Linked DNA regions of Homo sapiens: regions 1, 2, 4, 5 and 6 are each linked to region 3. Evidence: promoter capture Hi-C in 16 types of primary human blood cells and fetal thymus (Javierre and others, 2016). All regions are on one chromosome and are shown on one strand. Each heading gives the region's core, a stretch centred on a gene start or on the middle of the fragment in contact. The rest is flanking DNA. Distances are from core to core; before and after follow the strand shown.

Region 1 (3,347 bases), core at 721-3,220, 350 kb after region 3:
TAAGTCATGAGCCCTGGTAAGGTCAGTCAGTTGCTAGAATGCAAGTCTGAAAAACATCTCAAAAGACTAATCCTAGGTTCTACAATAGAGGTGTTACCTATAGAAGTGATTGGGGAAGTCACAAATCTTGGTCTTTACTGCCCAGGTGTCTCTGGCCACATGACGTCTGGCAATAAAGGATTATAGAAACTATAATCCTACATTTTAGCAGAATTCAGACTCCTTGAATAATCCTAATCTTAGGGCCTTTCATTACTTTTCAGTCTCAGAGCAAGAAGGGTGTTAGTTAGGGAAGGCCTACTATCATCCTTGCTTCCATGTTAAACTATAAACTAAATTCTTCCCCAGTTATCTTAGCCTACAACCAGGAGTGAACAAAGACAGATAACCTTTGAGGCTAGAGGCAGGAAGGAGTCAGCCACGTTAGATTTCTCTCACTGTCAAAATTTTTGCAAATGTGGTTTCACTTATTGGCATGAGACAGTATAATAACTGTATGGTACTTGATATGTTTCTTTCAAGTAATGAGAATGTAAGCTATCTGAGGGCAGGTATTTTGGTCTATATTGTTTGCTGATGGATCCCAATCCCCTGCAAATAAGATAGTGTCTGATATGTGATAGGCACTCAATAAATGTTTATGGCATTGATAAACAATAATATCACTTAATGTCCAGTCAAAATTATCTCCAGCCCTCATAATATGAATCAGGTCAGGTCTAGTAAATTCCCATCCTCATGTCCACAGTATTTGTAAATTCCCAGCTGGCTTACATTTTCATGAACATTTCTGATTTTGAGTTTCTGCTTAAGTAAACTACTCTGGTTAACCATTGCCTAAAGACTTCATATTTAAATAAATAACTCATAACTCAGCCCTTTACCTTGCTTTCTGCACATAAACACTCAGAAATTGTCAATTCTGTATTGTGAACATACTTTCCTGATGCACTGGCAAAAGACACCACTCAACATGAATATCAGGCAATCCTGTTATCAGTGTTCTCACTCACCCCACTGCTTTACTCATTTTCTTCTCCTTTTCCCTTCTGTCTCTCCTAAAGTTATTGCATTTCCAAGGCAGAGCACTTTGCGCATTTCATTTGCACGTTTGACTCCTATAAATGCTTTAGAGTTCCCAGGAGGTGTATATTCTTAAATGCCCAGCCAAGGTGTAGCCATAGAAAATAAGGAACAAGGCTGGGCATGATGGCTGACTCCAGTAATCCCAGCACTTTGGGAGGCCGAGGTGAGTGGATCATTTGAGGTCAAGAGTTCTAGACCAGCCTGGCCAACATGTTGAAACGCTGTCTGTACTAAAAATACAAAAATTATCTGGGCATGGTGGTGTGCACCTATAATCCCAGCTACTTGGAAGACTGAGGAAGGAGAATTGTTTGAACCTGGGAGGTGAAGGTTGCAATGAGCTGAGAATGTGCCACTGCACTCTAGCCTGGGAGACAGAGAAAGATTCCATCTCAAAAAAAAAAAAAGGAGAAGAAAAAGAAAAAGAAAATAAAAAGGCACAAGGACAAAACCTAGATAGGAGAGCCAGGGCTTCCAGATGGGCTAATTAAGAGACTTCCTCCACTGCCAGGACAGGGGATTCTTACTATTCCTTCCCACTGGCCTTGGTTAATTGCAGTAGAACAGTGCCTGCTACATCCTCTCCATTTTTCTTTTCCTCTTTAGGAGTTTTCATTGTGGAGTCTCAATTCCCATTGCATTATGATATATTGTGGGTTCAGGAAACTGAGATTTTTTTTTTAAAGTTATGGGACAGTTACCACAAAGAAATACTTCCCAATGTATGTCCATGTGGATGGCTCACTAACTTCCTGTATCAGGCCTGGTCGGTCTGGGACAGCACTACTGCTTGCTGGTTTTAGATTTTTTGTTGCTTTGTGCAACTTAGTACTGCTGTTGTCAGGTGTTGCCTTGGGGACTCTCCAGAAACTCTGGTGAATATAGACAGCTCTCTGAGCCTTCAGGCTCCCCTGCAGCTCCTGGAGGGCAGGTTTCATTGTAATGAGGATGTTTCGCTATGAACAGTAGTCACTCTTTCTCTAATCAGGCCCCTGGTGACAGGCCACTACTTGAGGGCACGTTGTCCCTTGAGCTATATATGCTGCTCTTGTTACATGGGGTCTTGGTAGTAGTCTGGCCTGTACTGGGTATAAGTTGCAAAGTCCTGGTCTCCAGCCAGAGTGAGCTGGCCAGTATGGTGAAACTCTATGTCCATCTCTGCCAGGGTCCAACCTGGCCGAATGACAGATGAAAAATGCACTCTGAGACTGATATCCAGTGAAAAAGCAGGCTAGGGGACTGGGCAGCTCACAGACACCGAGGAGGGAGCTGTAAAGAGTCAGTAGCCACAGCCCCGACAAGCTGGCACTGTGGGCATTTATTCAGTACAGATTTAATGACAAAGGCCTGGAGTCAACACGTCTTGTGGGTAATTAACATTGTCACCCCCCACCCCCCAAGACAGCAGTCCTGTGCACAGATGATTAAATACCAGGTTCCGAGGCCTAAGTAAACTAACTTATCTAGATCAATTCCTTTACACTTCCTTGTTATCCATTCTGAGAAAATTCAGCTGCCTTCAGCCAAATCCTCTTCTGAAGCTATGCAAATCCCAGGCCTTCCAAGAAGGTTTGCATCCTTTTCCTATAATTTATCTTACAACTTTTCCCACCATCCTGACCGATCTCCTACACATCTCACTGATGAGAGAGCCACAGGATACCAGGCTCCTGGGTAGCAGCAATTCCCTCATAGTGAAGTCAGAAAAGATGATAAAATGCTGGGCTTCAGTGTGTTGATAAAGGAGAGCCAGGATGAAAGGATCAAGTCACCTAAGCCTAACCTGTAATATGGCAACTGCACAAGTCCCCTTGGCAATTTTCAAGAGCAAGTGCTGCTGAGGCCAGTGCCTCCTTGGTTGCTGCATTCCTTCCTGCTATCACTCCTTGTCCCCACTAGCCACTCAGAGGTCAAGTGGGGCACCTTCAAAAGGGAAACAACTGCCCACAAGGCCAGTGCAAATGGAGCTCACCCCCAGATGTTTTTAGTAACAATTTGTAAAGTCAAAACAACAGGGTGCCAAACCCAAGGTCATCTAGATTTTCTCCTGTTATCTTCTAGGAGTTTTATAATTTTGTCTTTTACATTTAGGTCTGTGATCCATTTTGAGTCCTATTTATCTGGTGGAAACCTGACTGACATAGCATATGCTTCTAGTGTTTAAAAAAAAAAAAAAAAACAGAGGAAAGATGAAGCATTAACTAATATAAATTAGTAGAAATTGAGTGGAAGAAATGAAAATAGTCTCTCTGTCTACTTTA
Region 2 (3,598 bases), core at 1-2,500, 270 kb after region 3:
GGGTCTCCTGGGGAGAGTGACTCAGGCTCTAATGATTGCAGCAAAACATACACCAAGGAACAGGAGGAGGGGTAAAGGAACTAAAACCAGCTGGGTAGCAGGAAATAGGAAGTCTGAGCTTCTTCTGATTTTTGATGGCCCCAAGAATACACCAATATACTGTCTGCTTTAATGGCATTAGGACAGTGGGCTGGGCCTGTTTAGAAACTCATGTACCTGACTGTATTTCTCAGCCTCAGTCTCTGTGGGATGCAGAGGTTCAGTGCTCTCAACAACAAGGGCCAAGAAATCCAAGTGTCCGGGCCCCTGCTCCCTCCAAGGGTCAAGGTAAAGAAAGCAGCAAGCACTGTGGTGAGAAGAATCAGAGGGAGGCAATGAAAGGAAGAGAAGAAGTCATGAGGGATGGAGACCAGAAACACAGAGAGAGGTAAGGGAGTGGGGGAAGTTGAGACAGTTGGCAGGACAGCGCGTCCACACCCATGCACACCACCAAGATTAACCCCATAATCCTCTGATCTTGTGGAAGCTCATTTGTAGTCTTCTAGCCCAAAGAAATAACCGTTTTTCTGAAATGTTAAGCATCCTTCCAAGGGTATCAGAGTGATATGGAGAAATATGGTAAGACAGTTACAGAATCAGAGATAACGACACTGATTCTAAAAGCATTATTACCAAGGCATTGTTGCATTAAGACTGTTTTTTCTTTTCTTTTAGAGACAGTATCCTGCTACGTTGCCCAGGCATGTCTCAGACCCCTGGGTTTAGTGATCCTCCTGCCTCAGCCTCCCCAAATGCTGGGATTACAGGCATGAGCCGGGCTGTTTTTAATTCTAAGTAATTTATAATTTACAATTACACCTAACAATGGCTTCAACAAGGGGTGTCCAATCTTTTGCCTTCCCTGGGCCACACTGGAAGAAGAAGAATTGTCTTGGGCCACACATAAAATACACTAACACTAACGATACCTGATGAGCTAAAAAAAAAAAAAAAAAAAAAAATCCCCCAAAAATCTGATAATGTTTTAAGAAAGTTTATGAATTTGTGTTGGGCTGCATTCAAAGCCATCTTAGGCCATGGGCTGGACAAGCTTAGCTTAGAACCAAGACGAAATTTATGGTTTACTTTACAAGAATTTTGCAAGAGGGTAATACTAGGTTAGGTTATATCTGGAAAATATCATCAAGAACTACATTCATTTTAATCTTTTCTCTTTTTTATCCCTAATATGGTGACTTTTTTTCCTGGGGATTGCCACTTCATGGCTCCAAGAAAGCTACCACAGCTCCTGACTTCACATTACAGCAGGGGTCCCCAACCTCCAGGCCATAGACCAATACACAGACCGATACCGGTCTGTGGCCTGTTAGGAAGTGGGCTGCACAGCAGGTGACTGGCAGGTGAGCAAGAGAAGCTTCATCTGTATTTATAGCCACTCCCCATTGCTGGCATTACTGCCTGAGCTCTGCCTCCTGTCAGATTAGTGGCGGCATTAGATTCTCATAACAGTGTGAACCCTACTGTGAACTGTGCATGCCAGGGATCTGGGTTGTGTGCTCCTTATGAGAATCTAATGCCTGATGATCTGTCACTGTCTCCCATCACTCCCAGATGGGACTGTCTAGTTGCGGGAAAGCAAGCTCAGGGCTCCCACGGATTCTACATCATTGTGAGTTGTATAATTATTTCATTGTGTATTACAATGTAATAATAATAATAGAAATAAAGTCTACAATAAATGCAATGTGCTTAAATCATCCTGAAACCATCTACCCCGCCACCCCATGGAGAAATTGTTTTTTATGAAACTGGTCCCTGGTGCCAAAAATGTTGGGGACTGCTACACTCCAGCATCCCACACCAGGAGGATGGGGATGAGATGGAGAATCACTGAAGATCTTTAATCAGAAGGGTGATATGTTCATTTGTACTTTATAAACATTTGTGTTTGTATTTTATAAACATTTTCTTGGGATCATAACAACAGATGCATTTTAGAAGATTCCCAAGGTATGAAGGGTAACAAATGAAGACGTGCCTAGGAGTCACATGGAAGCCAACACTTTGTAAGGGGATTAAAATAAAGGGAATGGCAGAGGACATCATTATGCACAGAGGAGAAGGGCCCAAATGTCAAGAGAAAACAAGAGACAAGGGACTCCACAGAGAGTAATTGCCAGAAAAATTTGTAGGTCTTTTGAAGTCTGACTGTTCTTCCTAAAACGGGGGTCCTGGGACACCCCTACCTGTTTCCCATGAGCCCTCTTTTCTAAAACATAAGTAGGTTTTCTTCCTGGCTACCAAATGGCCTGTGATTAGCACACTAGGTTGGGCAAAAATAGAGCCAAGTGTGTGTTCCAAAGTGACTATGGTGAAGAAAAAAGCGAAAGTCTTAAAATGGACTTCCACTTCTGTGTTTGCGTAAGGCTAAAAGGGAAGATGTCTTAGGGTTGACCGGAATGGGAGTATTCCTGCCTATGCTGCAAAAGTCCCTGACTCTTCTGGTAACTGAAACATGAGAAATGGCCTCGGCGAGCAGCACAGCCTCCCAGTAAAGCACTGGACTGAGGTGGTAAAGCCAGATTGCCTGGACTAGAATCCCAGGACTACTGTTCACTAGCTCCGGACAAGCCAGCTAATCCAGGGGTCTCAAACATTTCCCCCAACTTTTTTTTTTTGAGACAGAGTCTCACTGTGTCACCCAGGCTGGAGTACGGTGGTGTGATCTTGGCTCACTGCAGTTTTGCCTCCTAGGTTCAAGTGATTCCCCTGCCTCAGCCTCTCCAGTAGCTGGGATTACAGGTGCCCGCCACCACGCCTGGCTAATTTTTGTATTTTTTAAGTAGAGATATGGTTTTGCCACGTTGACCAGGCTGGTCTTGAACTCCTGACCTCAAACAATCACTTGCCTTGGCCTCCCAAAGTGCTGGGATTACAGGACGGAACCACTGCACTGGGCCACAAACATTTCCTATGAAGAGCCAGATGGTCAATATATTTCATTTGGCAGGCCATAGGGTCTCCATCACAACTCCTTGGCTCTGCTGTTGTAGCCTGAAAACAGCCACAAGCAAAGTTGTAAATGAGGAGCATGACTGTATGTCAATAAAACTTTATTTAAAACACGACAATTGGACTTCATATAAGTTTTGCATGGCACAAAATACCCTTCATTTGATTTTCTTTAGCCGGTAAGAAATATTAAAGCCATTCTTGGCTCTCAGGCCATACAAAAACAAGCGGTGGCTAGATTTGACCCCTGATTTAACTGCACTGGGTCCCAGACACTTCACCTGTGAATTGAGAGCAATGATACTTACAGAGGTGTTTTCTGGAGCAGAACAAATAAGATCAGTGATACAAAGCACTTGGCATGAATTCCAGTGCAATAAGTATTATCAATATCTTAGTAATTACATAAACCTCTCTATCTGCTGTTTCACGTTCTCTGCGGTGAACCCATCCATGCTTAAAACTTGAACCACACCTCAGCTAACATTCACCAGACCCCTGTCTCTAGCTCAGACCTGCCCTTGATGTTCAGACACATCATTTTGGGTTCCTGTTTCCTTTCAAACTCATCTGCAGCCTTTGCTCT
Region 3 (3,316 bases), core at 1-2,500:
ATCCCTGTTTTTAGAAACAGCCTGACCCTCCAACAACAAAGTGTCAACCTAAATAACAAACAGAGAGAAGCTCTCTAAAAGAAAATGATATGTATTCAGGAATGGGGCATTGCAATGGGAATCTGGGTGCTATAGTAAACTACGTGCATATTCAGGGAGGTAAAAGAACACAAAGGGTTTTCAATGGAAAAATGAGGAGGACCCCATAAATGGTTTGAGATAATTACCCTAGGCTACAAGGATCCCTAATGAGGGTGACGTCAGTCCAAGTTTGGACCGGAGGTTGCTGTCCAAATACTTGTCACAGAAGTATTTTTTTGGTGGAAGGAAGCAATGGCTTTTGTGCAAGACTATGGTTTCTGCAGCGTCTTCTGTGAAAATTTTTGTTGTCAGAGAGCCCTCGCTTCACAGCCTTCCCCACTGTATTTCTCAGGGATTTTTTTGGCTTGTGAGCACTTTCACAAAGGGATCTGGTTATACACACACTGGTTCAGGTCTAGAAGAGCATTCCCTGCAGCCATTCACAATGGTCATGGGAGGAATATTTAGTGACATAGAGAAATAGTCCACTGTTGAGGAGGAAAGCAGCCAGTTGTAAAACAGCCCCAGGCAGTCTAAAAGTTGGGCCCTACACCGGGCACGGTGGCTCACACCTGTAATCTCAGCACTTTGGGAGGCCGAGGTGGGCGGATAACGAGGTCAAGAGATCAAGACCATCCTGGCCAGCATGATGTAACCCCGTCTCTACTAAAAACACAAAAATTAGCTGGGTGTGGTGGCACGAGCCTGTAGTCCCAGCTACTCGGGAGGCTGAGGCAGGTGAATCACTTGGACCCGGAAGACGAGGTTGCGGTGAGCCAAGATCATGCCATTGCACTCCAGCCTGGTGACAGAGCGAGACTCCGTGAAAAAAAAAAAAAAAAAAAAAAAGCTGGGCCCTGCATAGGAAAACCAAACCAAATGGAAACAGGACATACAGTTGAGGAGTTTGATGTCCTATCTTTGAGGCACTTGGCTGTATTTTCTGGTTTTCTTTGTTTTCCCAACAGTGAGCCTGTGTTTTTCCGTTTTTTCATGACCAGAGAAAAAAATGTAAATTATTATAAAAATAAGTAAATAAATAATGAACTAAAGGCAACATAAAGCCATAAAGATAAGGTTGGGCTCTCAAGAGCCGTCTTCCCCAGGCCCCACCCCTGCTGGTCAGAGTGCACCCTGGGGAGGAAAGGCCGCCCTGAAGGCTGGGAGACGAGACCGGCAGCCTCTGTGCCAGGAGACACAGGTCTTGGAGGGAGCAGAGGAGGTGGCTGTGTCTCTGGAGGGACCCCTCCTCCTGGAGGACCCCAGGCAGCTCATGGACCTTTCCAGACCCAGATGGAGCCTGTGGAGGAGGGTCTTCCTCATGGGTAAGAGATGCTGGATGCTGGATGAGCTTCCCAGGACTGAGGGAAGGGCAGCTAGGAGCAAAGCGGCGGGGAGGGGGCTGGGACCATCCCCATCCACGGGCACATCAAGAAACTCCCAGAGCAGGGGTCGGGGAGAGGAGAAGGGGGAGGACCCTCAGCACAACTTTCATGAGCTCACACACGTGGGCACACTTTGCCCCTAGACACACCCCTGCACAGACCCACACATGTGGTGTTACACACACACGCACACGCACATGCACACACACACACGCGCGCACACACAGAGAGAGAGAGAGAGAAACTGTGTTTCTATCTACGCCCAGGAATCAGGAGCTTGGACCTTCACCCTCACCTCCCTGCACTCACCTCCCACTGGGTGCCCCAATCTGCCCCATCCCCTCCCCCACCTCTCAGGCCAGATTCCTTCCCAGCCCCTCACCTTTGCCCAGGACCTTCTGTGCCCCCTACAAGCACAACTGTCCTGCTTTACCACGTGTACTGTCCTTGAACAGGTCCAGTGTGTCCATACGTGAGGCCTAGAGCCGGGGTCTCAGGCATCTCTGCCTCCTCCACATAGCCCAGGCTTGGGGTTCACAGGGCAGTGGACAACTGCCCATGTCATATGTGGTAACAGGCTGCCGCCTCCATTCACACCCACTCCAGTGAATTTAGATGCAAAATCAAAGACATGTAGAAATTCTCGGGGGAGTATTTCTCACCCAGACAATCATTACTGAACTCCCCCTGTGTCCAGCCTGTGCTCAGGGGCGCTGGGGACTCAGTGGTGACTGAGACAGGGCAGTCCTGCCCTCCTGGAGCCCACAGTCCAGGGCGAGATATAGATATGTGCCCAGACTCTGAGGACCCCCAGAGGTCATGGCTGGGATGGGGGGAGCCCAGGAGGAGCTGGGGGAGCCCAGAGGGGACACCTGACCCAGGCTGGGGTGGAGGAGACATCCAAGCTGAGACCTGAGTGATGAATAGAAGTGAGTCAGCAAGGAGGGTGCAGATGGAGAGGAGGGAGAAGGAGTCCCTGCCGGGAATGGGGAACAGCGTGTGCGAAGCCTGGAGTTAGGAGAAGGTGTGGTGCACCAAGAGAGCTATGTAGAGGCCTGGGGCATACAGCGTGGCAGTCATGTCTTCTGATAAATAACTACAGGAATAAATGAGTAAAAGGTGCATAGTGGGGACAGGATGGGGTAGGTGTGCACCACAAGGAGGCTCGATGAGTCACAAACACCAGCTCTGGCTGAGAGTGTTTCATATACCCACCTAAGAGTTTGGACTGTATCCTAAGAGCACTGGGGAGCCATGGAAGGTGTTTGAGCAGAGGAGAACAGGGTCGCAACTTGGGCTTATTAACATTTACGTAACTGTGATGTGAGGATGGATTGGAGGCTGTGTGGCTAGCGAGGAGGGCCTGGGAGAAGATAAGGGTAAAATGGACCACGGCAGGGGCTGAGGGGAGGCACAGGAGGGGACAAGCTGGGGACTCTACCAGGAGCCAGAAACTCTTGCCTGGTTCACCAGCGTCTCTGGGAATCGTTCCCGGATGGTGTCTTTTTTCCTTGTCTTCTCAGCCAGTCTGAATCTCTTTGTGAATTTCTCTCTGTCTTTTTTCCTTGTCTTCTTCAGCCAGTCTGCTGGCCTGTGGGATCTGCCAGGCCTCTGGCCAAATCTTCATCACCCAAACCCTGGGGATCAAGGGATATCGGACTGTCGTGGCCCTGGATAAGGTCCCTGAGGATGTTCAGGAATACAGCTGGTACTGGGGTGCAAACGACAGCGCAGGAAACATGATTATCAGCCACAAACCGCCCAGTGCCCAGCAGCCTGGGCCCATGTACACTGGCAGGGAGAGAGTGAACAGAGAAGGCAGCCTGTTGATCAGGCCGACTGCATTAAAT
Region 4 (3,487 bases), core at 598-3,097, 350 kb before region 3:
CTACCCTTTCCCAGGAAGCCCCTCTGGCTACAGATGTGTGAGTGAAAAGCAGGAGGGCTTCTGGCCCCTGGTTCTCACCTGATCAGGGGGCCATCCTGGGCACTGGCTTCCCCCCAACCCCCATGGCCTCACCTGGAGCTACTACTCCAGGTGAGCAGGCCTGCTCTTTTCTAGGGAAGCCGAAGGATTGTTCCCCGAGTTCCAGGTGGGGCTGAGCTGTCCTGTCCCGCCTGAGTTAGAATTGAAGTGGCCGATGCTAATCTGAGGCCCGTGTTGGCTCTGCAGGTGTGGAGGGCCCCAGGGGAGCAGTGCTGAGAGGCCTGACTGAGCCCCTCCTGCTCAAGACAGAACTCAGATGTGGACACCCAGCCCTGCAGAACAGATGCAGGACAACACTGTCAGCCATGGCTCAGCCCTTCTGACCATTGCAGTTGAGATGCTGCAACTTCCCAGGGAGCGACTGGGCAAACATGGGGGCCTGAGGTATTCACGGCAACGTGCACAGATGATAAAACTACCTAGAAAAGCATGGAGACCATTAGCGTTAAAGTGAGGCTGGGGCTGCTTCAGGAGGAAGTGGGGTGTGGCTGACAGGAAGTGGGGTAACAAAGAGGAGGTGTTGCGGCATCCCCAGTGTTCTGTTTCTCTAAGCATGTTCATATGTGTAAACCGCTGAGATTTTTTCTTGGGGGGAAGACATTTTTATCTATATGGCTTATATTTCTCCCAAAAATATTTCTAGAAAACTGACATCGGTCTAAGGAGGCTCCACCACACAGGATACTCCCAGTTCCTCCCAGCCCAGCCACACAGTTACAAAAAATCTTCTGCTGAATTCAGGTGCATGTTTCTTCTCCCATGAAATCCTGCCCATCGCGGAGGGTGCATGCCCCGGGGCTGGTGTCCTCACTCCACATCTCCTGTTCACCGGGACCCCTGGGAGCAGAGCTTGCAGAAGCAAAGCCCCAGGGCCAGCTGATCCCTCATGTTCTGGAGTAACCAGGGAAGTGTGGCTGAGCGAGACATCGGTGGTGAAGAAACCCTTCGTGGTGCAGTGAGGAAAGGAGAAATATCTTCCCTTTTGAAATCTGCCCCTTTTCTTCCGAATTTCCTCCCTTCCAAGCCCCACAGTACAACAGTCACAGCCTCAGTTTCCCAGACCTCCTGCGAGCCAGGCTCCCCTCTGTGTCCTTGGCGTGTATCAACACATAGAATCCTCACCTCCACAGCCCCATGTCCCTCTGCTCAGTCCTCCTGAGATTGAACCCCTGACCTACGGGAGAGTGACCCCATCCTGCCTGTGCCCCCCAACTGAAGCTCCTGCCGTGGACAGCTCAGACGTCAGGAGCCTCCATGTCTCCCCTCCGCACAGTGACCCCTTGGGGACAGTGTCCAGCTCTGCTGTGTTGACCTCGTTGTGCAGAAAGGGGGTGCCCACCTCGTGCTTGCTTGGGGGGGATGAGAGGCTGCCTGCTCACCCCACCTGCACCCCCATCTCTCATGGCCCCAAGTCCCACCTCTGAGCTACGCAGATATCCACAGCCTCTGACTCAGGGGTCTGGCCAGATGGGACTCATTTTCACCCTGCAGAAAATGTCACCTAAGGGGAAGGGCATTGAGAGGGAGGCAGGAGGTGGGGTGGGCCCTGCATGGGGTGGGAATCTGGGTGAGTCTGTCTCCCGCTCTGGCCTCAGGGACCCAGGAGTGAACATGGGGTGGTGGACGGTGGATCTCCCAGGGCTGACCCGGGCCTGACAGTGTCTGGGTGTAAAGTTCCTCCTCTGAGGAGGTCACTGTTCCGACCTCGCCCCTGTCTTCCTGTAGGGCCTCCTCTAAGTCTTGAGCCCGCAGTTCCTGAGAGAAGAACCCTGAGGAACAGACGTTCCCTCGCGGCCCTGGCACCTCTAACCCCAGACATGCTGCTGCTGCTGCTGCCCCTGCTCTGGGGGAGGGAGAGGGCGGAAGGACAGACAAGTAAACTGCTGACGATGCAGAGTTCCGTGACGGTGCAGGAAGGCCTGTGTGTCCATGTGCCCTGCTCCTTCTCCTACCCCTCGCATGGCTGGATTTACCCTGGCCCAGTAGTTCATGGCTACTGGTTCCGGGAAGGGGCCAATACAGACCAGGATGCTCCAGTGGCCACAAACAACCCAGCTCGGGCAGTGTGGGAGGAGACTCGGGACCGATTCCACCTCCTTGGGGACCCACATACCAAGAATTGCACCCTGAGCATCAGAGATGCCAGAAGAAGTGATGCGGGGAGATACTTCTTTCGTATGGAGAAAGGAAGTATAAAATGGAATTATAAACATCACCGGCTCTCTGTGAATGTGACAGGTAAGGCACAGGCTCCAGGAAAGGCCACAGGGAAAGGTCATGGGGGCGGCAGGGAAAGGCTGGGATGGAGCCCCTGCCCCAGGAGAGGGCTTAGGGTGAAGCGAGTTGGCTCAGGGCAGGAGCTGGACCAGAGCCTGAGCTCCCCCCAGGGCTGCACCATGGATCCTCTGACCTGATCCTGAGTCCCCCTCTCTTCACCAGCCTTGACCCACAGGCCCAACATCCTCATCCCAGGCACCCTGGAGTCCGGCTGCCCCCAGAATCTGACCTGCTCTGTGCCCTGGGCCTGTGAGCAGGGGACACCCCCTATGATCTCCTGGATAGGGACCTCCGTGTCCCCCCTGGACCCCTCCACCACCCGCTCCTCGGTGCTCACCCTCATCCCACAGCCCCAGGACCATGGCACCAGCCTCACCTGTCAGGTGACCTTCCCTGGGGCCAGCGTGACCACGAACAAGACCGTCCATCTCAACGTGTCCTGTGAGTGCTGGGCCGGGACGCCTGGGTCCCTGATGGGGTGAGCGTCAAGCCTGGACACTGGGTGCTGGGTCCCGGAATCTGGGCTGGTGGTGGGGTCAGGAGGACACTGGCTCTGCCTTCCCTGTTTATGCGGCTCCTGGGGACAGACAGGGCCAGTGTCCCCAGCCCTCACAGTGATGCGGGTCTCCATGTCTTTCTGTCCCAGACCCGCCTCAGAACTTGACCATGACTGTCTTCCAAGGAGACGGCACAGGTAGGATGGAGCTCCCTCCCTGGGGCTGGAGGAGCAGGGCCTTCAGGTCAGGATGGGGCTGGCTTATTCCTCAACCTGGACTCACTTTGGCAAACAGGGATGTCCTTGTGGGTGAACTCAGGGCCCCTCTGTATCCTTAGGCCCCAAGGCCACTTGTTCCCATCCTCCCATCACCTCCCTTGGACTCCCCCACACACCCCCCCCTCAGCCTCAAACAAGAAGAGGGTGGCATTCACACAGCAGGACCAGGCTTTGAGGCTCCTTCTCATGTATCTCCTGAATACATCTCCACCCTTATCTGTTTATTTCTGATAGTTCTGATCTAAGTACTTCTGGACAGGTGATAAATGTCCATGGGCAAAAATTCAAATTGCAGAGCAAAGGCTCTCCTCCGATGCCTGCCCCCCTCCCCAGAAC
Region 5 (3,442 bases), core at 514-3,013, 370 kb after region 3:
TGCAGATGAGTCACTGGAAGGTAACTAGGGTTAGATGAGGTCATGAGGGTGGGCCTTCAATATGGAATTAGTGACCTTAAAAGAAGAGATATTGGCTGGGTGCCATGGCTAATACCTGTAATGCCAACTCTTTGGGAGGCCGAGGCCGGTGGATCACTTGAGGCCAGGAGTTTGAGACCAGCCTGGCCAATATAGCAAAACCGTGTCTCTACTAAAAATACAGAAAATTAGCCAGGTGTGGTGCAAACGCCTGTAATCACTGCTACTTGGGAGGCTAAGGAATGAGAATCACTTGAACCCGGGAGGCAGAGGTTGCAGTGAGCCGAGATCGCGCCACTGCACTCCAGCCTGGGCCACAGAGCGAGACTCCATCTCAAAAAAAAAACAAGAAGAGAATTTGCATTCTCCCCCTACTGCCATATGAAAACAGATGGCCATCTGCAAACCAGAAAAAGATCTCTCACCAAAACTCATCCCACACTGGCACTGTGATCACGGACTTCCAGCTTCCAGAACTATAAGAAAACAAGTTTCTCTTGTTTAAGCCACTCAGTCTATGGTATTTTGTTATGGCAGCCCAAGCTGACTAATACATTACATGCCAGCACTTTGTCAGGGACTTCAAATGCACTACCTCACTCAATCCTCAAAACCCATCTGCAAGGTAGATATTTTCAATTTGTCATAATGGAAAAACTGAGACTTACAGAAGTTGGGTATCTTGCCCAAAGTCACACAAAATAGGGTAGAATTGACATAAAAAGCTAGTACTAATTTCAAGTGTATACAAACACTCGTGTACGCACACACATGCACACACATAGCATTTATGACACGATTTTGACAACTCATGAATTTTGGTTGTACAGGTTATCATATTGCTATTCTTTCGAGTTTTCTATATACTTGAAATTCTTCGACATAAGATATTGGGAAATATAATACCTCAATGTAAAATACAGCACCCAAATGTCTGTACAGCTGAGGCCTCCTTATGTTCCAGCCCCACCAGCCTCTCCCGTCGATGTCCGTGTTGCTCTCCACCCAAGCATCTTGCTGTTGCCTCACTCACACCTCCCCAGACACCTACTTTCAAGTGGAGCATAAAACGGACCCTCCAAATACTCAAACTTGGACCCCTGAAACCTCAGATCACTAACCGCCAATCCCTGTCCTCGCCGACCACATCCTGACGGCCCCCTCCATCGGTGGCTCTCCCAGGCCTCTCTCTCTGTGGCAGGGAGCACGATGAGGAGAGGATATTTCACGAGAAACGAGAGAATGGTCTCTAGTTTCTTCCTCAATCCACAGCTCTAAACACTGATGCCGGCCCTAAAAGCCCTCAACAACCCCGAAGCGGCCTTAAACGGCAACCCCAGATGGTACTCATCAGAAACCAATCCCAAGTCACGGAATTCCCACAGCGCTGCGGGATTCCTAAGGGCTTTAGGCAGAGTCAAATGTAATCTCACACAGGAGTCCCGTGAATTTACTCCCTGGAAGGCAAAGCTTCCATACGTCATTTCCTCTTCTGCTCACTGGGCTGGATGGCCAGGCTTTCCAGCTATTATACAAACTCAGTAGCACTTTGGAAGGCCAGGATCCATCTACAGACGCGGATCCCGGTCCCACCAGGAATGATCGCTCAGCAATATGGTCGCGCCCAAGCCCTGACATGCTGTTGGAAGCCACCATCTTGGAAGACGCAGTACAGACTGCGAGACAGCCATTCTAGGCGACCGGATTCCGCTGACCAGGCCGAAAAGGAGTAAATCTAACTGATCCTTTCTAATCTTCTAAAGACCTCTCATCCTGTACTTCCACCTTCTTTCCTGTCAGCGTAGGGCATGCTTAGTAGGATTTCGGCACTTTCAACTAGTCTTCCGACCTGACCAATCAGAACACACCGAAACAGAAAATGGCTGCGCCCACGCTGCCTCGTTCTTCTAAACCACACGAAAGGTGAGGCCGTATTGAAAAGCCTGGGTCCCTAGGGGAAAGAAGGGAGGGAGAATTAGGAAGCTTGTACAGCTAAGACGCGGAAGACGCTGGGAATATACCCAAAGGAAATGAAATCACTATGTGGAAGAGGTATCTGTACTCCCACATTTACTGAAGCATTATTCACAATACCCAAGATATGGAATCTTTCTCCATACGACTGAGAAAGATGGAGATTAGGAGACCTAGAACTGGATCTGGACGAACAGAGGTGGTATGGGAAGAGCTCTCTGGATGTGTGGTTTGTGGGGAGAGATGGTGAGGGCTTAAGAACTAATGTAAAGATGCCTGTGGAGCAGACACGGGCAACCACAATCCAGGCCACAAGAAAAGCATTTGTAGCTCACAGGGATCCTGTGTATCTTGAAGAGCACAACCCACCCAGACATTTGTCAATACTGTGATGCAGGAGTCAACTTCCTTTTTTCCCTGGCTAGATAATTATCCCAACAACATTATTTAAAGTTGATCTCTTCCCCAATTTGCTAATATTTTGTAAGGAGTTGTACATCTAAGTTCATGGGATATTTGGTCTGTAATTATCTTTTATTTTAATAATGCCTCTGTCTAGTTTTGGTGTCAAGATTATATTGCCTTTAGATAATGAGCTGGAAAAAAATCATCTTTTTGATGTATGTAGTTCTAAACCATTTTTTTGTTTTAATATTCCATTGTATGAATCTGTTTTCTGCACTGACACATTCAACACAATTGCCAAGCTGTTACCCCCTTTTAAAATATGTGCACATTTTCTGTCTCTTTTATTATATAAAAACTTGAACTATTTCCACAGTTTGGGGAAGGAAACTATACACAGGTCTTTCTGTGTCATTACCTACTCTTCTCCAATGGAGAAAGGGTAAGTTTAACAAAATAGGTTGCGCATACAAAACAGGTTGTGCATGGATGGTTTATAACACTTCCTTTTTCTATGTTCTTTGTGTTTGGGTTAACCTGTCTGCAGGATGAAGATTTGCTCTTCAGAATACATTTGCTATGTTCTGAATGTGTCCCCTAAAATTCATGTGTTGAGACCTTAATTCCCAGTGCAATGGTGTTGGGAAGTGAGGCTTAATGGAAGGCGTTTCGTTCATGAGAATTCTACTTTCATACCACTTGTAAAAGGACTTACAGGAGTAGGTTCACCCCCTTCTGCCTTTTGCCATGTGAGGACACAGCAAGAAATCTTCACCAGATGTCAGCACCTTGATCTTAGACTCCCTGCCCACTACAGAACTGTGAGCAACTACATTTCTGTTCTTCATAAATTATCCAGTCTCAAGCATTTTGTTATAGCAGTACAAATAAAGACAACGCTGTTAAGGAAACGATACTGGAACCCTCATACACTGTTAGTAACATTCAAAAATGGTACCACTTCTTCGAAAAAGTTTGGCCACTTTTTATGTTAAACAAGCAATCTAACTATTAAGCATTTACC
Region 6 (3,146 bases), core at 16-2,515, 340 kb before region 3:
AAATCTCTTTCTTCATTTCAAGGGACAGACTTGACAGTTCTTTTGTGTTCTAGTTCTTCAAGGGTGCTTATTTTGTGTGAATCACTGAGTTGGTTTTTAGGGGACACTTTTATGTACATGTCTTGTGTTTCTCCCCGCTCAAAAAAAACTGTTTCAAGAAAAGCTGGCCTGGATCTAAGGGGGCTGCAGCTTGCAGGATTTTTCCCACTTCCTCCCAGCCCAGTCACACAGTTTAAAATAATCTTCTGTTGAAGTCAGGTGCGTGTTTCTTCTCTCAGAAAATCGCGCCCATCACTGAGGGTGGACGCCCCGGGGCTGGTGTCTTTGCTCCACGTCTCCTGTTCACCTGAACCCCTAGGAGCAGTTCCTGCAGGAGCAAAGCCCCAGGGCCAGCAGACCCCTCACACTCTGCACTAACCAGGCCTCATGAGATAGCAGTGGTGAAGGGAAATGTCCTTGTGCTCAGAGAGCTGTGAGGATGGGAATAGTGTCTGCTCTTTTCATATTGATCCTTTCCCTTATGACTTTCCTGTCTACCAAGCCCCACAATACAACAATCACAGCCTCAGCTTCCCCGGCCTCCTGCAGGCTGGGCTCCCCTCCGTGTCCTTGGCGTGTATCAACAGGCGCAATCCTCACCTTCACAGCCCCATGTCCGTCTGCTCGGTCCTCCTGAGACTGAACCCCCGACCTAGGGGAGAGTGACCCCACCCTGCCTGTGCCCCCCACTGAAGCTCCTGTCATGGGGAGCTCAAACGTCAGGAGACTCAGTGTCTCCCCACCACACAGTGACTCCTTGGGGACAGTGTCCGGCTCTGCTGTGTTGACCTCATTGTGCAGAAAGGGGGTGCCCACCTCGTGGCTGCTGAGGGAGGGATGAGAGGCTGCCTGTTCACCCCACCTGCACCCCTGTCTCTCATGGCCCCGAGTCCCACTTCTGAGCTACGCAGACATCCACAGCCTGTGACTCAGGGGTCTGGGCAGATGGGAGTTATTTTCACCCTGCAGAAAATATCACCTAAAGGGAAAGGCATTGAGAGGGAGGCAGGAGGTGGGGTGGGCCCTGCATGGGGTGGGAATCTGGGTGAGTCTGTCTCCCGCTCTGGCCTCAGGGACCCAGGAGTGAATGTCGGGTGGTGGACGGTGGATCTCCCAGGGCTGACCCAGCCCTGACAGTGTCTGTGTGTGAAGTTCTTCTTCTAAGGAGGTCACTGTTTTGACCTCACCACCGACTTCCTGTAGGGCCTCTTCTAAGTCTTGAGCCCGCAGTTCCTGAGAGAAGAACCCTGAGGAACAGACGTTCCCTCGCGGCCCTGGCACCTCCAACCCCAGATATGCTGCTGCTGCTGCTGCTGCCCCTGCTCTGGGGGAGGGAGAGGGTGGAAGGACAGAAGAGTAACCGGAAGGATTACTCGCTGACGATGCAGAGTTCCGTGACCGTGCAAGAGGGCATGTGTGTCCATGTGCGCTGCTCCTTCTCCTACCCAGTGGACAGCCAGACTGACTCTGACCCAGTTCATGGCTACTGGTTCCGGGCAGGGAATGATATAAGCTGGAAGGCTCCAGTGGCCACAAACAACCCAGCTTGGGCAGTGCAGGAGGAAACTCGGGACCGATTCCACCTCCTTGGGGACCCACAGACCAAAAATTGCACCCTGAGCATCAGAGATGCCAGAATGAGTGATGCGGGGAGATACTTCTTTCGTATGGAGAAAGGAAATATAAAATGGAATTATAAATATGACCAGCTCTCTGTGAACGTGACAGGTAAGGCACGGGCTCCAAGAGAGGCCAAAGGCAAATGTGATGAGGGCTTTAGGGCACGGCTGAGACGGGACACATGTCCTGGGAGGGGGCCGGGGGTGATGGACTCAGGAGAGGAGCTGGACCAGAGCCTGAGCTTCCCCAGGACCGCACCTTGGATGCCCCTCCTGATCCTGCAGGCCCCTCCCCTCACCAGCCCTGACCCACAGGCCTGACATCCTCATCCTGCCTCTGACGCTGGCATTGTGGCATGTGGGGCCTTATGACTCCTTGTTTTGGGGCCTGTCCTAGGCATGGCCGGGGTTTAGCACCATCCCAGGCCTCTCCCCACCAGATGCCAGAAGCACCCACTCCACCCATGCAGTGAGACAATAACAATTATCTCCACACATTGTTAAACGTCCTGGGGGGTTAAGTCCTCCCCAGTTGAGAGCCTTAGGTCTACACAACCCCGTGACTCTCTCAGGCCAGGCCAGGGAGGAAGCACTTCCTGGCGCAAACCAAGGGCAGCAGAGGCACCTGAGCCTGGACAGGGAGACTCAGCACACGGCCCCTCCATCTCTCATGCCCTGAGGTCCTCGGAGATCCACATTTAGATGCTCAAAAGACAGGAGGGACCTCCACGATGGTCCAGAGGCCGGGAGGGCAGGACCTACGTGTCTGGTGCAGGCCCTGGTGCTCCAGGGAAGCCCGGAGGTAGGAGGTGGGACACGGTCTCTTCTCCTCCCTGGGTGGGTCTCTAGGGTCTCTGAGCTTCAGGGTTTCCTTCACTCTGTGCAGAGGGAACCAGTTCCTATAGCATGTGGGTTTGTAGTTTCTCTTTCGTGCTGGGTTGAGGTCTCCAGCTCCTCTCCAGCCCCTCTCCAGCCCCCTGTGGGTCCCACAGCCCTGCCCCTCCTCTCCCTCCCACTTCTCTGCTCACACAAGGAGCCCAGGAACCCTCTGTCTCAGAGATGCTGCTGCCTCTCTTGTGGGCAAATGAAGAGAGGGACAGTCGGGGCTGGGCTGAGCCTCATTTCCCCACAGCGTCCCAGGCCCCACTGTCAAGATACAGGCTGGAGGTGCTGGAGTTGGTGATGGTGCAGGAGGGCTAGTGCGTCTCTGTGCCCTGCAGTGTCCTTTAACCCTATTACAACTGAACTGACTCTAGCCCTGTCCATGGATGCTGGTTTAAGAAAGGGATCAATATACAATGGAATAATCCAGTGGCCACAAACATCCCAAATGGAAAAGTGCAGGAGACACGGGGCCGATTCCACCTCCTTGGGGACCTGAAGACCAACAACTGCTCCCTGAGCATCAGAGATGCCAGGAAGGGGGATTTGAGGAACTACTACTTCCAGGTGGAGAGAGGACAGATAAGATGGAATTACAAAACGAAG

Evidence for each region. Contacts are between HindIII fragments. The CHiCAGO score rates a contact against its expected background, and 5 or more counts as called.
Region 1: a fragment that was not itself captured here is called in contact with the fragment with the promoter of CEACAM18 in region 3 in 4 of 17 cell types (monocytes, M2 macrophages, M0 macrophages and 1 more); the score reaches 17.6 in monocytes.
Region 2: a fragment that was not itself captured here is called in contact with the fragment with the promoter of CEACAM18 in region 3 in 5 of 17 cell types (naive CD4 T cells, naive B cells, naive CD8 T cells and 2 more); the score reaches 6.9 in naive CD4 T cells.
Region 4: the fragment with the promoter of SIGLEC9 here is called in contact with the fragment with the promoter of CEACAM18 in region 3 in 4 of 17 cell types (neutrophils, naive CD8 T cells, total CD8 T cells and 1 more); the score reaches 9.8 in neutrophils.
Region 5: a contact is called between a fragment that was not itself captured here and the fragment with the promoter of CEACAM18 in region 3, in 2 of 17 cell types (monocytes and M0 macrophages). The highest score is 7.1, in monocytes.
Region 6: the fragment with the promoter of SIGLEC7 here is called in contact with the fragment with the promoter of CEACAM18 in region 3 in 11 of 17 cell types (fetal thymus, total B cells, neutrophils and 8 more); the score reaches 15.5 in fetal thymus.

The regions. Positions count from the first base shown.
Region 1 is chr19:51,826,888-51,830,234 of GRCh38, forward strand. It overlaps a transcript of ZNF577 not described here. Among named protein-coding and RNA genes, the nearest start is that of FPR3, 33 kb to the left of the region's middle. The HindIII fragment of the contact is 6,940 bases long and covers 1-3,347 here.
Region 2 is chr19:51,751,861-51,755,458 of GRCh38, forward strand. FPR1 (formyl peptide receptor 1) reads right to left here and starts at 18. Exons shown (of 2, transcript NM_002029.4): 1 at 1-18. The HindIII fragment of the contact is 324 bases long and covers 1,089-1,412 here.
Region 3 is chr19:51,477,289-51,480,604 of GRCh38, forward strand. It overlaps CEACAM18 (CEA cell adhesion molecule 18), which reads left to right and starts at 1,251. Exons shown (of 6, transcript NM_001405061.1): 1 at 1,251-1,406; 2 at 3,045-3,316. The coding sequence starts at 1,355. The HindIII fragment of the contact is 9,749 bases long and covers 1-3,316 here.
Region 4 is chr19:51,123,059-51,126,545 of GRCh38, forward strand. It overlaps SIGLEC9 (sialic acid binding Ig like lectin 9), which reads left to right and starts at 1,848. Exons shown (of 7, transcript NM_014441.3): 1 at 1,848-2,337; 2 at 2,539-2,817; 3 at 3,023-3,070. The coding sequence starts at 1,917. The HindIII fragment of the contact is 17,590 bases long and covers 1-3,487 here.
Region 5 is chr19:51,846,333-51,849,774 of GRCh38, forward strand. It overlaps a transcript of ZNF577 not described here. Among named protein-coding and RNA genes, the nearest start is that of ZNF577, 40 kb to the right of the region's middle. RefSeq lists an enhancer at 990-2,189. The HindIII fragment of the contact is 513 bases long and covers 1,508-2,020 here.
Region 6 is chr19:51,141,036-51,144,181 of GRCh38, forward strand. SIGLEC7 (sialic acid binding Ig like lectin 7) reads left to right here and starts at 1,266. Exons shown (of 7, transcript NM_014385.4): 1 at 1,266-1,767. The coding sequence starts at 1,335. The HindIII fragment of the contact is 9,764 bases long and covers 1-3,146 here.